Regions from separate parts of the Homo sapiens genome. Here regions 1 and 3 are each linked to region 2. Evidence: promoter capture Hi-C in 16 types of primary human blood cells and fetal thymus (Javierre and others, 2016). All regions are on one chromosome and are shown on one strand. The core of a region is centred on a gene start or on the middle of the fragment in contact, and the rest is flanking DNA. Distances in the headings are between cores, read along the strand shown. Region 1 overlaps PPIL6 (peptidylprolyl isomerase like 6). Region 2 holds the start of ARMC2 (armadillo repeat containing 2). Region 3 has its middle 3.6 kb from the start of CD164.

Region 1 (3,637 bases), core at 322-2,821, 560 kb before region 2:
GATCTCGGCTCACTGCAACCTCCACCTCCCAGGTTCAAGTGATTCTCCTGCCTCAGCCTCCTGAGCAGCTGGGATTACAGGTGCGTGTCACCATGCTCAGCTAATTTTTTTGTATTTTTAGTAGAGACGGGGTTTCACTGTGGTGGTCAGGCTGGTCTCAAACTCCTGACCCCGTGATCTGCCCACCTCGGCCTCCCAAAGTTACAGACGAGAGCCACTGCACCCGGCCGAAAAGATATCTTTATTGAATCGATGGCCAAAGTGAAAGGGAAAAAGTAATAGCTACTTTCCTTCTGAATTCCTGCAGACAGCTCTATCAAATGAAAACATGCAAGTGACACCATTCCTTTAGTCATTCATAAAATACTAAACTCCAAAGTAGGTGCTCACATGGTGCTAGGGCCTGTGGCAACAAAGATGGTATAACCGAGTTTCTACTCGGAAGGCTTGTAGTAGTTTTGTGCAGACAGATGTTAAAACAGATCAACTACAGGTGCTGTGCCAGTTGCTGTTAGAGAGGAGGGAACTGAGTGCTGTGGGAAAAGAAAGAATAGCTGCCTGGAGAGTTGGGTGCGGCAGCACAGAGAAGCTTTGAGTTGGGTCTGCAGCAACACGTTGCAGATGGAGAAAGGACTCTCCTGGCCCCAATCCCTGATGAGAATCCACTGTACCTCTCCACCCCACAGCCATTATCAGAGCACCCAAATGCTTTGTGCTCGGAGGCACAGCCTCAGATGGAACGTGGGCCTCCTGTCCAGTAGGAGACTGATCTGTTCACTCATCTCCTTGCCTGACCTCCTAGACACCCCTGAGTCTCTGCTGATTATCCCTCACCCCATCCTTAGACTGTTGTAGTATCTGCTCTCCAGATAGAATCTTTGCTGTCCTCACTGTGCCCATGGAGTCCCAGTGCATTCAGTGAAGTTTTTATTATTCGGTTGGTCTGGTAGGACAAAATTAGAAAAAATCCAGGAAGCAATCAAGTGGGAAGAAGAGATGTTCCAGAAGGAAAGATGAGTAACTGTGAAAGCGAGAGCACAGCTAGTCCTCAGAACAGCTAAGGCATGGGTCTTTCTCCCTCATCCCTTCACCTGCCTGGGAATGTGAATGCAGCAGCCAGCCAGTCCTTCCTCCACATTTCTCTCATGGGTTCCTACTTCCATGAGATGCAGAATTAAAACTGGGGCTGTGAAAAACTGCAACCACAAAACTCACTTTTGTTAAGCTTAACACAAAAATAATGCAATAAGTAATGTATCATTTAATTAGATTATCATTTTATAAACGAATTAATTTTTTTTTAACCTAGGGAAAGTCTGTTTTGCTTTGTTTTGAATCACAACTTTTAAAGTCCTAAATAAATAGGCTCTTTCTACTTAGGCAAGTTTCAGCTATTGGTTTCTGTGTAGGTTGTTCCCACACATACTTTATCCCTGGCAGAAGCACTCAGGAGAAAATAGGCTTGAATCAAACCTATTTACTGACCAGTGGCCTCACTCCTCACCAAACAAAGAGGACAGAAATTCCTCTATGGGGGCTTTCACTCTGTTTAAACCTAAAGAGGCTCAGCCCCCTTCAGCAGTGCTGTTTACTGCCAAAGGGTGCATTTTGATATCATGGAAGTATAAAGCAACTTAATGTTTTAAGTGTTAAATGAAATGTACCAAAAATTTACTATTAGAAAAAAAATCAGGGAAATTTATGTTGGTAAATAATTTTTTTAAAAAAAATTAGAGCTAGCCAGGTGTGGTAGCACACACCTGTAGTCCCAGCTACTCAGGAGGTTGAGGCAGGAGGCCTTGAGCCCAGGAGTTCAAGACTAGTCTGAACAACTAGCAAGATGCCTTCTCTAAAAAAATTTAATTTAATTTAAATTTAAATTATAGCTCTTTAATTTTAGAGCTTTATGGAAGCTTGAAAAGAAGTGTAAAGAGGCAGAAGGAAAGCAGAGGGGTTGGAAAGATCGAGAAATACCGAGGTGAGCAGACGATTAAAGAGTGAGTCAGAGAGACACGGCAGAACAAAATAACACGTAAATTACCCTTGTCTTGTAATACTTTATGTCTGCAAAGCTAGTTAGAGTTAATATTTAAAACGGTTCTTTCTTACACATCATTTTATTTGATGCATACAAGATCATGCCAAGTAGGCCAGTTACGGCATGACCACTGAGCGATTTCCGTAGGCCCTGGCATTACTGCCTGGCTGGAAGCAGCATAGCCTCGGGTTCTTAAGATTCACATACACATTCTGGACTTAGAGAATCCACACACAGTCGTTTAGTTTTCACACTTTTTTTCAGGTCCATACATTTTTAAGTTTCTAAGTCAGGGACTACCTGCACCTTTTAAAAATATAATTTATTCTGTCCCTTTATAGCAATGGTTCTCAAATTGTCTCTAAGGATTTCCATGCTGTCCTAAATAAATGTGTTCAGGAGATGAGAGGGCTCTAGGCACTTTTTTTTTTTCTTGAGACCGAGTCTTTCTCTGTCATCCAGGCTGGAGTGCATTGGCGCAATCTCAGTTCACTGCAACCTCCGCCTCCTGGGTTCAAGCGATTCTTGTGCCTAAGCCTCCTAAGTGGCTGGGATTACAGGCATGCACCACCACACCCAGCTAATTTTTGTGTTTTTAGTGGAGACGGGGTTTTGCCATGTTGGCCAGACTGGTCTCGAACTCCTGGCCTCAAGCGACCCACCCACCTTGGCCTCCCAAAGTGCTGGGATTACAGGCATGAGGCACTGTGCCTGGCTGCTCTAGGCACTTTTTGCACTGTTTTATACATGGGTTTTCACATAGGTAGCAGTTTCTTTGATAGGTATTATGATTAACTGCTTTAAAATTATCCCACAATCACAGAATTTTTTATAAAAATGTTACAACTCATCAATTTTCTTTCCCAATTTTTAAAGAATTTAAGAAAAATAAATCAGAATATGTAAAAGCAATGACAAATACCATTCTGTTAAAACTCTCTGAATCTGGGCCGGGCGCGGTGGCTCACGCCTGTAATCCCAGCACTTTGGGAGGCCGAGGCGGGTAGATCACGAGGTCACGAGATAGAGACCATCCTAGCAAACACGGTGAAACCCTGTTTCCACTAAAAATACAAAAAATTAGCCGGGCGTGGTGGTGGGCGCTTGTAGTTCCAGCTACTAAGGGAGGCTGAGGCAGGAGAATGGCATGAACCCGAGGCGCAGCTTGCAGTGAACCAAGACCGCGCCACTGCACTCCAGCCTGGGCAACAGAGCGAGACTCCATCTCACAAAAAAAAAAAAGAAAAACTCTCTGAGTCTTTGCTGTGGGCAGATTTCCATTTCATGCAATTTTCTGTGAAATTATGAGTTTTTTTCTTTATTTCACTGAAATGAATAAGGAGCATCAGCGTAATTATATAGACTCATTTGTACAAACATGCCTCATCAGCATTTCATAAGGTTTCAGGGGTCTTTATTCAGTTTTCAACTTACCAGGCTGAAAGTAACTACCCAGATATGGCTTAATCACTTAGTTTGCTTAGTTTTGAAACTTAATAACAGCAGTTGCAGTTTAATAAAATCTTATAGACAGTTAATATTCATATTTCTCAGTTATTCTCAGAAATTTATGAAGTTATTGAATGAAAAAATTCACTG
Region 2 (3,369 bases), core at 319-2,818:
TCTTCCCTGCAAATCAAATACTCAGGACCCTTCCATAACTCTGAATCATTTTTGTATTAATATGAGCATCCAAAGAGGCAGTGGTTAAGTGCTTAGATGCTGGACTAAGGGTTTAAATGCTGACAATTCACAGCCATGTGACCTTAGGCAATGCCTCTAATATCTCTAAGCATCAGTTTCCTCATCTATAAAAGGTGGATAGTAATAATAATTGCCCCATAGGATTGTTTGAAGAATTAAATGATATAATACATGTAAAGTGCGTTAGCACAGTGCTTTAAAAATGTTAACATTTTAAAATATGGCCCTTAAAGATGTTAACAATTATTGCCCAAGTGCTACATGATAAAAGGATACAGCAAAATCATTTCCACGAATGAAAAACTACATTTAAAAAAAGAAATTGCAAAAGAGAGAATGACGTTTGTTCAGTGTTTCTATACATAAGTTTTTTTTTATTATTATACTTTAAGTTCTAGGGTACATGTGCACAATGTACAGGTTTGATACATAGGTATACATGTGCCATGTTGGTTTGCTGCACCCATCAACTCGTCATTTACATTACGTACTTCTCCTTTTAAAAGGTGGGTGGTGGTACTTGCCTTTATGAAAACAGATAATTTTTATTAAGCATTTTATTGAATATCAGCTATGCCAAATCAACATCAACAACCAGAATCCCATAGATTAAGAAACCAGGATAAATATAATAAATGGTGCTTGCTTTTCAACCAAATTAAAGTATAATTATTATAAATCAGGGTGGGACGTAAGATCTGTTGTGTTACTTGTGGGAATGGATCACAAAAGGCATTATGTATACACTCCATGATTTTAAAGTATGTTAAATATTGTTACACATACGTTTTTATTTATTGAGGCCCTGTTGCCTGGAAGTGCCCAGATATAAACTGTATGACTCTGGCCCGGTCACCGCCTGCCTAGACAAAGCCCCTTAGTCTACCACTCTCATTCAACAAATATTACTGGGCTTCTTATTAAGCACCACGCACTTGGCTAAGTGCGACAGTACATAAATAAAAGACAACCGCTCCGGACCCCTGACAGCATGCACAGGGCACTCATCGTCTCTCTACCCCATCCGAGGACACACAGGCGGACGACGGCAGGAAGGGTCCCTGGGGAGCCGCTGGGGACACCTCACCTCCCGCTCGGACAGCGGCTCCCCCACCCACGGCAGTGCCCGCTCCTCCACGGTCCCGGCCAGGGCAGGGCGCAGCAGCATCCTCACCCCGCCCGGCCACCCTCCCACTTCGCCCCGCAGCCAGCGTCTCCATGGTAACCGTACACAAACTACCTCCCGCCGCCGCCCCGGCAGCCAGACCGCAGGGCCAGGCCGCTGCAGGGCGGGAGAGGCGGGCCGGGGAATGAGCTTGGCGAGGGCTCAGGGAAGGAGGCTTCCGACCTGACCCAAAGCACCTGTGATGAGCACTGGAGATAGCAGCGGCTGCGAGGTTCAATTCATCCTCCGGCTCTCCCCGGGTAGCGGCCAGGGATGCAGCGCTGGCGCGGGCGGGGTAACCCCACGACGCCGCTCGGCCACTGGGCCTGCGCGGGTCCCGCCAACGCATGCGTAGAAGCTCCGAGGCGTGGCGACGGCCGGAGCGGGTGGGAGGAGCCTGGAGAGGGCTGTAGGCCGGGAGGTCAGATCAGAGCAGGCGTCGTGGGCGGGTGTCCGCTTTTCGTTTAGCAATTTGCCGAACCACATTTGTTGCTCCCCTGCCGGATCCCAGCACCTCTGTTAAATAACAGCAGGCAGGACGGAAGCTTAATGCTTGTGGGTAAGAAGGATTTACTGGCTCAGGTTAGGGCTCTGTATAACCTGGAGCCACTTGCTGAGCTTCTGTTTCCTCCGATGTCAAGTGGCAGGAAATATTAATAATAGTACCTAGGTAGGTCTTGGGCTGTTATGAAGACTGCATGAGAAAATAGATGTAAAGCGCTATGCACGTGGCAATCAACGAATATTAAACTGTTGGCTGTTATTAAGCCCTTGCATTTGTACAGCCCTTCAGTTCGCAGAGTGTATGCACGTAATCGTACCTTCTGAGTCTGAGGTAGGCAGCCTGGCGTCCCCATCCACAGGAGAGGAACTGGGGGCCTGAGGTGTAGTGAGCAGGAGAAGGAGATTCCAGTCTAGGTCTCCCGTGGCCAATCGTTTTTTGTTCGTGCATCATCACAGTTGAACGGCAAAAAGCACTCCATTTATGTGTTTCTAGTTTAAATTCCCTTTTCTCCTGTTAGACCATTTAGCAACACTGTACAGTGTTAAATAAAAGTGAGATCATAAGCACTCTCCATTCAGGTTTGCACCACGTTTTATAAATATGGAGATTTTCCAGCTGAAGTGCTATTTGTCATCAACACTGGGAAAATGCCACTTCCCTTGGTGCTAAGCATCTTGTAAAGAATAATTAAATTGAAAATATTTTTGAGCACATACTATGTGTAAGGCATCGTGCCAGGTGGGAAATTATACTAACCTGAACTAAAGGAATGTAAATATTCTTCAAAATACTCAAGAGGATTTCAAACATAACAGAAAATAAATACCTATTCGTTGATTGGATAATTTTAGGACCCGAAACAGCCCTGGATTTTTCTGCTCATTCTTAGATAACTGACAGTCTTGTTGTAACTAAATCTCAACCACAGCTTCATTTCAAAACTATAATGTTGGGTGCAAGATATAAACAAATGCATCAAACTTCAAAAAGTCTTCCTCCCCCATTCCAGCCCCAGGCTTAAGGTCTCTAGCTGGCCTTCCCTGAAGGGGTGCACTAGGCTTAGGCTTGTCCCCGACCCCCACCCGCCCCTCTATTCACTAGAGGTTGTTTAAGGCCCAGCTTGGATCAAACTGGCAGTGAGGAGGAGGAGGAGAAGGAAGGAGATGGAGCATTTCTTCCTGGAGTTGAGCAGCTTCAAGCTTGCTGTGCTGGCTTATGGTTAAAGCAGCTCATGTAGGTCTTTCCTGGTCCTTTGTAGTCTCCCACTGATGGGGACCTCCCTCCTGGGGGCTTCTGGAAATCCTAAAAACCCAGGGTTTATTCCACCTTTCAGTGCCCCTTTAGATAGGTCCCAAGGGAAACCCTACACATCTGTTACCCTAGTGATTCTGAGAGCTCAGGCTTGTCTGGGTGCAGCCCCTTCTAGGCTGCCATAGGAGGGAGCTTTAGCTTACCCAGGAGTGAGTCAGGCTCCAGTTCTCCAGGCCACCTAACTACAGTCTCTGGCAGTCCCAGGCCCCTGGGGAAGCCCCTCTCGCTGGCTTGAGATGAAGGGCATAGCACCCCACACTCCTTTCTCCAAAGAAGTTTCCCCACACATCTTCCCTTTCCACTCTCT
Region 3 (3,514 bases), core at 1,013-3,512, 540 kb before region 2:
GAATACCTAGGGACAAGGGGAAGCCATAGCTAATCCAAGATATCAGCAAGCCGCCTGAGGTGTAGTTTAGCTTGAACTTGGAGGTTATTCCTAAGGAACAAGTCAGGAAAAGGTTTCATTTCCTGAAGGACCAAGAGACGTAATGCAAAGAGCTCTAGCAGACCCAGGGTTTGAAGCAGAATACAAATAAAAATCATGCATCTCGGGTGCCAGCCTTAAGGGAACCTGGGCTGGGCTCCCTGACTCCTGCACATCCAGGAGGTTTGTGCTGTTTGTATGCTAACCTTACATATGTTTGTAAAGAAAGAAGCAAAAACAGTATATCTTGATGTAATTTTGTAAATGAATCACTGTTAAGAATTGCAGGCCTGGCATGGTGGCTCATGCTTGTAATCCCAGCACTTTGGGAGGCCAAGGGGGGAAGATTGCTTGAGCTCAGGAGTTCTAGACCAGCCTGAGCAACATGGTGAAACTCCGTCTCAAGCAAAAATACAAAAAATTAGCCAGGTGTGGTGGCGCACCCGGCTATTCAGGAAACTGAGGTGGGAGGATCACTTGAGCCTGGGGAGGCGGAGGTTGCAGTGAGCCGAGATTGCGCCAGTTTGACTGAAATAAGCCAGTTTATTTATTCATTTTTTTCTCAAAAAAGAAAAAAAATTGCAGCAGTTCAGGATAGAATAGTTCTGTGCAAGTCATAGTGTAAAGCAGTGTTCTCCAACTTTTTTTTTTTTTTTTTTTTTTTTTTTTTTTTATGAGATGGAGTCTCACTCTGTCGCCCAGGCTGGAGTGCAATGGCACGATCTTGGCTCACTGCAACCCCCACCTCCTGGGTTCAAGCAATTCTCCTGCCTCAGCCTCCCAAGTAGCTGGGATTACAGGCACCCGCCACCACACCTGGCTAATTTTTGTATTTTTGGCAGAGATGGGGTTTCGCCATGTTGGCCAGGCTGGTCTCGAACTCCTGACCTCAGGTGATCTGCCGCCTCAGCCTCCCAAAGTGCTGGAATTACAGGCGTGAGCCACTGCATCCGGCTGTTCTCCAACTTTAATACTTTACACATGTACATATCTTCTGGGAATCTTGTTAAAATGTAGGTTCTGATTCAGGAGATCTGAGGGGGAGGCCTGAGGTTCTGCATTTCTAGGTGATATAAATGATAATGGTTTGAGAACCACACTCTGGAAAGCAAGAGTAAAGCACTGGTTTTCCACCTAAGCTGCAGATTAGAAACACCTGGGAAGCTTTTAAAACTGCTGATGCTCAGACATTACTCCAGACCAATTAAATCAGTACCCAGGCACTAGTATCAATATTTTTCAACACACACCACCACCACTGATGTCACTAGGTAGTTCCAATGTGCAGCCAGGGTTAAGAACAACTGCTCTAAAGTGTAATGCTCCCCTCTGGCGCCCTGGCACACTTTTCAAAGAAACATCCACAGTCAAAGTGGAGAGCCTCCTAATGACAATATCTCCAGAATTTTACCCTTAATCTTAATCACAATATTAAGACTCTGAATATACAGTTTTAGCTAATATTTGATTTATTCCAATCCTTCTCTTTGTCAAAACAGATTCAAATACTACTAAATGAGCTTTAATATATGCTGTTAAAACTGTCTTACAGATGCCAGCCCTTGTTTCCCACCCATACTCCTCTAGATGAATCTACCCTGACCCACAGCTGAAGAGTTCAGGGAGTTATTTGTAGCAGCTGCCCTCCTACGCTTTTATTTTATTTATTTTATTTATTTATTTTTTTTTTTTTTGAGGCAGAGTCTCACTCTGTTGCCCAGGCTGGAGGGCAGTGATGCAATCTCGGCTCACTGCAACCTCTGCCTCCTGGGTTCAATAGATTCTTCTGCCTCAACCTCCCAAGTAGCTGTGATTACAGGTGCTTGCCACTACGCCGGGCTCCTCCTGTGCTTTTTAATGCAGCTAATTTTTGGCAAGGGTGGACAACTGACTGAAATAAGCCAGTTTGTTCATTTATTCATTTTTTTTTAATTAAGTGCAGGGAATAAACTGGTGAGCACTATTTCTGAGTTAATCTAGTGAGAAAGACAACTGCTATATAATGCAGTATATGCTTTGTTATGGGCAAGTCCAGGGTGCACAGAGCAGGAACACCTTTTGTAGTCTGGGAGTGGGGAGAAAGGGGTAGTTGAATATTTTAAGGATAGCTTAAGATGGGAGTGACAGCTTAGCTGAGAGACCTCAAACAAGTAGGAGTTGGTCAGATGCCAGAAGGGAATAAGAATGTTCTAGGCAGAAGAAATAGCATGGATGAAGATCCACATGCAAAAGAAAACATGACCAGTTAGGAGAACTGGAAGTTCAGGGAGCTCTAGTGTAGACTGCATGGATGGAGTCAGAGCAGAGAGTAGGTAACAGACAGGTTGGGAAGGCATGGTACTCAGTCAAGTTATCTCTTCCAAGAGCTATATAACTGGAATACTGGGCAATGGAGATGATTGGCTGTGGGTCTATAGATCTGGCAATGTCCTGTAGGGTTGAAGCCTGAAACGAAGTCCTAGCAAACCAGCTCCACGTGCTAGGGATTCCTCCTTTTAAGTTCAAGTCTCCCTTGGCCCTCACACACTTGATTTCCCACCCCTGAATGCCTATAAGATTTACTGTCATATTCTTACAGTGAATGGATTCCCTTTAACATAAGCTAGTACAAGGGGGTTTGTACTTCTTGCTATCAAGTAGTGGAGGCAAACCTCTGATTATTAAGGGGCCACTGGATGTTAGTTATAGCTAGAAGGCAGGGTCCTGTTTGGAGTGTTGATCTGTTTATTTGGGGAAAGGTACTGACACAAGGCTGAAGCATTGTTTAAAAATCTGCTGTTTAAAAAACTTAGAGGGAGCTTATACTGCTAGAAGATTCACAAGCGCAGAAGCACTCTGTCTTGCTGCTTTCAAGAAAATAAATGGTTAAGAAGGTCGCTCTAACAACCAATCGACAATCTAATTGCAAGCAATGTGTCTAAGAGGAAATAACCTGAGTGATGGCTGACCTTGCACACAGAAGAACGCTCTGAGGGTGCCTTTCAATTGTGATTTTACCCCCAGGAGACATTTAACAATATCGGGAGATATTTTTGGTTGTCACAACTGAGAGGTGGGGTGCTTCTGGTATCTAGTGTGTAGAGGCTACGAATACTGCCGAATATCCAACAATGCACAGGACAAGCAAGAATGAGTCAGCCTGAAATCTTGATAGCGCCAAGATTGAGAAACCCTGCTCTATGACAACAATAAACAGAAGCTTACTGTCAGGAACTGAAAAAAAAAAAGCTGTCTCTCTGAAATGGTGAAAATGACTTTGGAACTCCCTTGATCTACCTCTACAGTTGCCATGCAAAATAAAATAAACCAATGGTTTTCTAGTCTTAAAACAAGAGCGTGAAATGTCCCTTTATCAGGACTGAGGAATATCTGAGGACTAGAGTTAAACATCCAGGTGACAAATTGTTAAACAATGGTCTGCACAGAGGAGTGTGTT

The links. Contacts are between HindIII fragments. The CHiCAGO score rates a contact against its expected background, and 5 or more counts as called.
Region 1: a fragment that was not itself captured here is called in contact with the fragment with the promoter of ARMC2 in region 2 in 3 of 17 cell types (M1 macrophages, M2 macrophages and M0 macrophages); the score reaches 7.1 in M1 macrophages.
Region 3: a contact is called between a fragment that was not itself captured here and the fragment with the promoter of ARMC2 in region 2, in 3 of 17 cell types (M1 macrophages, M0 macrophages and M2 macrophages). The highest score is 7.5, in M1 macrophages.

The regions. Positions count from the first base shown.
Region 1 is chr6:109,401,372-109,405,008 of GRCh38, reverse strand. All of the region lies in intron 6 of PPIL6 (peptidylprolyl isomerase like 6), which reads left to right. Among named protein-coding and RNA genes, the nearest start is that of CD164, 21 kb to the right of the region's middle. The HindIII fragment of the contact is 688 bases long and covers 1,228-1,915 here.
Region 2 is chr6:108,846,621-108,849,989 of GRCh38, reverse strand. ARMC2 (armadillo repeat containing 2) reads right to left here and starts at 1,568. Exons shown (of 18, transcript NM_032131.6): 1 at 1,444-1,568. RefSeq lists a silencer at 1,211-1,310. The HindIII fragment of the contact is 2,745 bases long and covers 1-1,793 here.
Region 3 is chr6:109,384,337-109,387,850 of GRCh38, reverse strand. No RefSeq gene overlaps it. Among named protein-coding and RNA genes, the nearest start is that of CD164, 3.6 kb to the right of the region's middle. The HindIII fragment of the contact is 2,035 bases long and covers 1,245-3,279 here.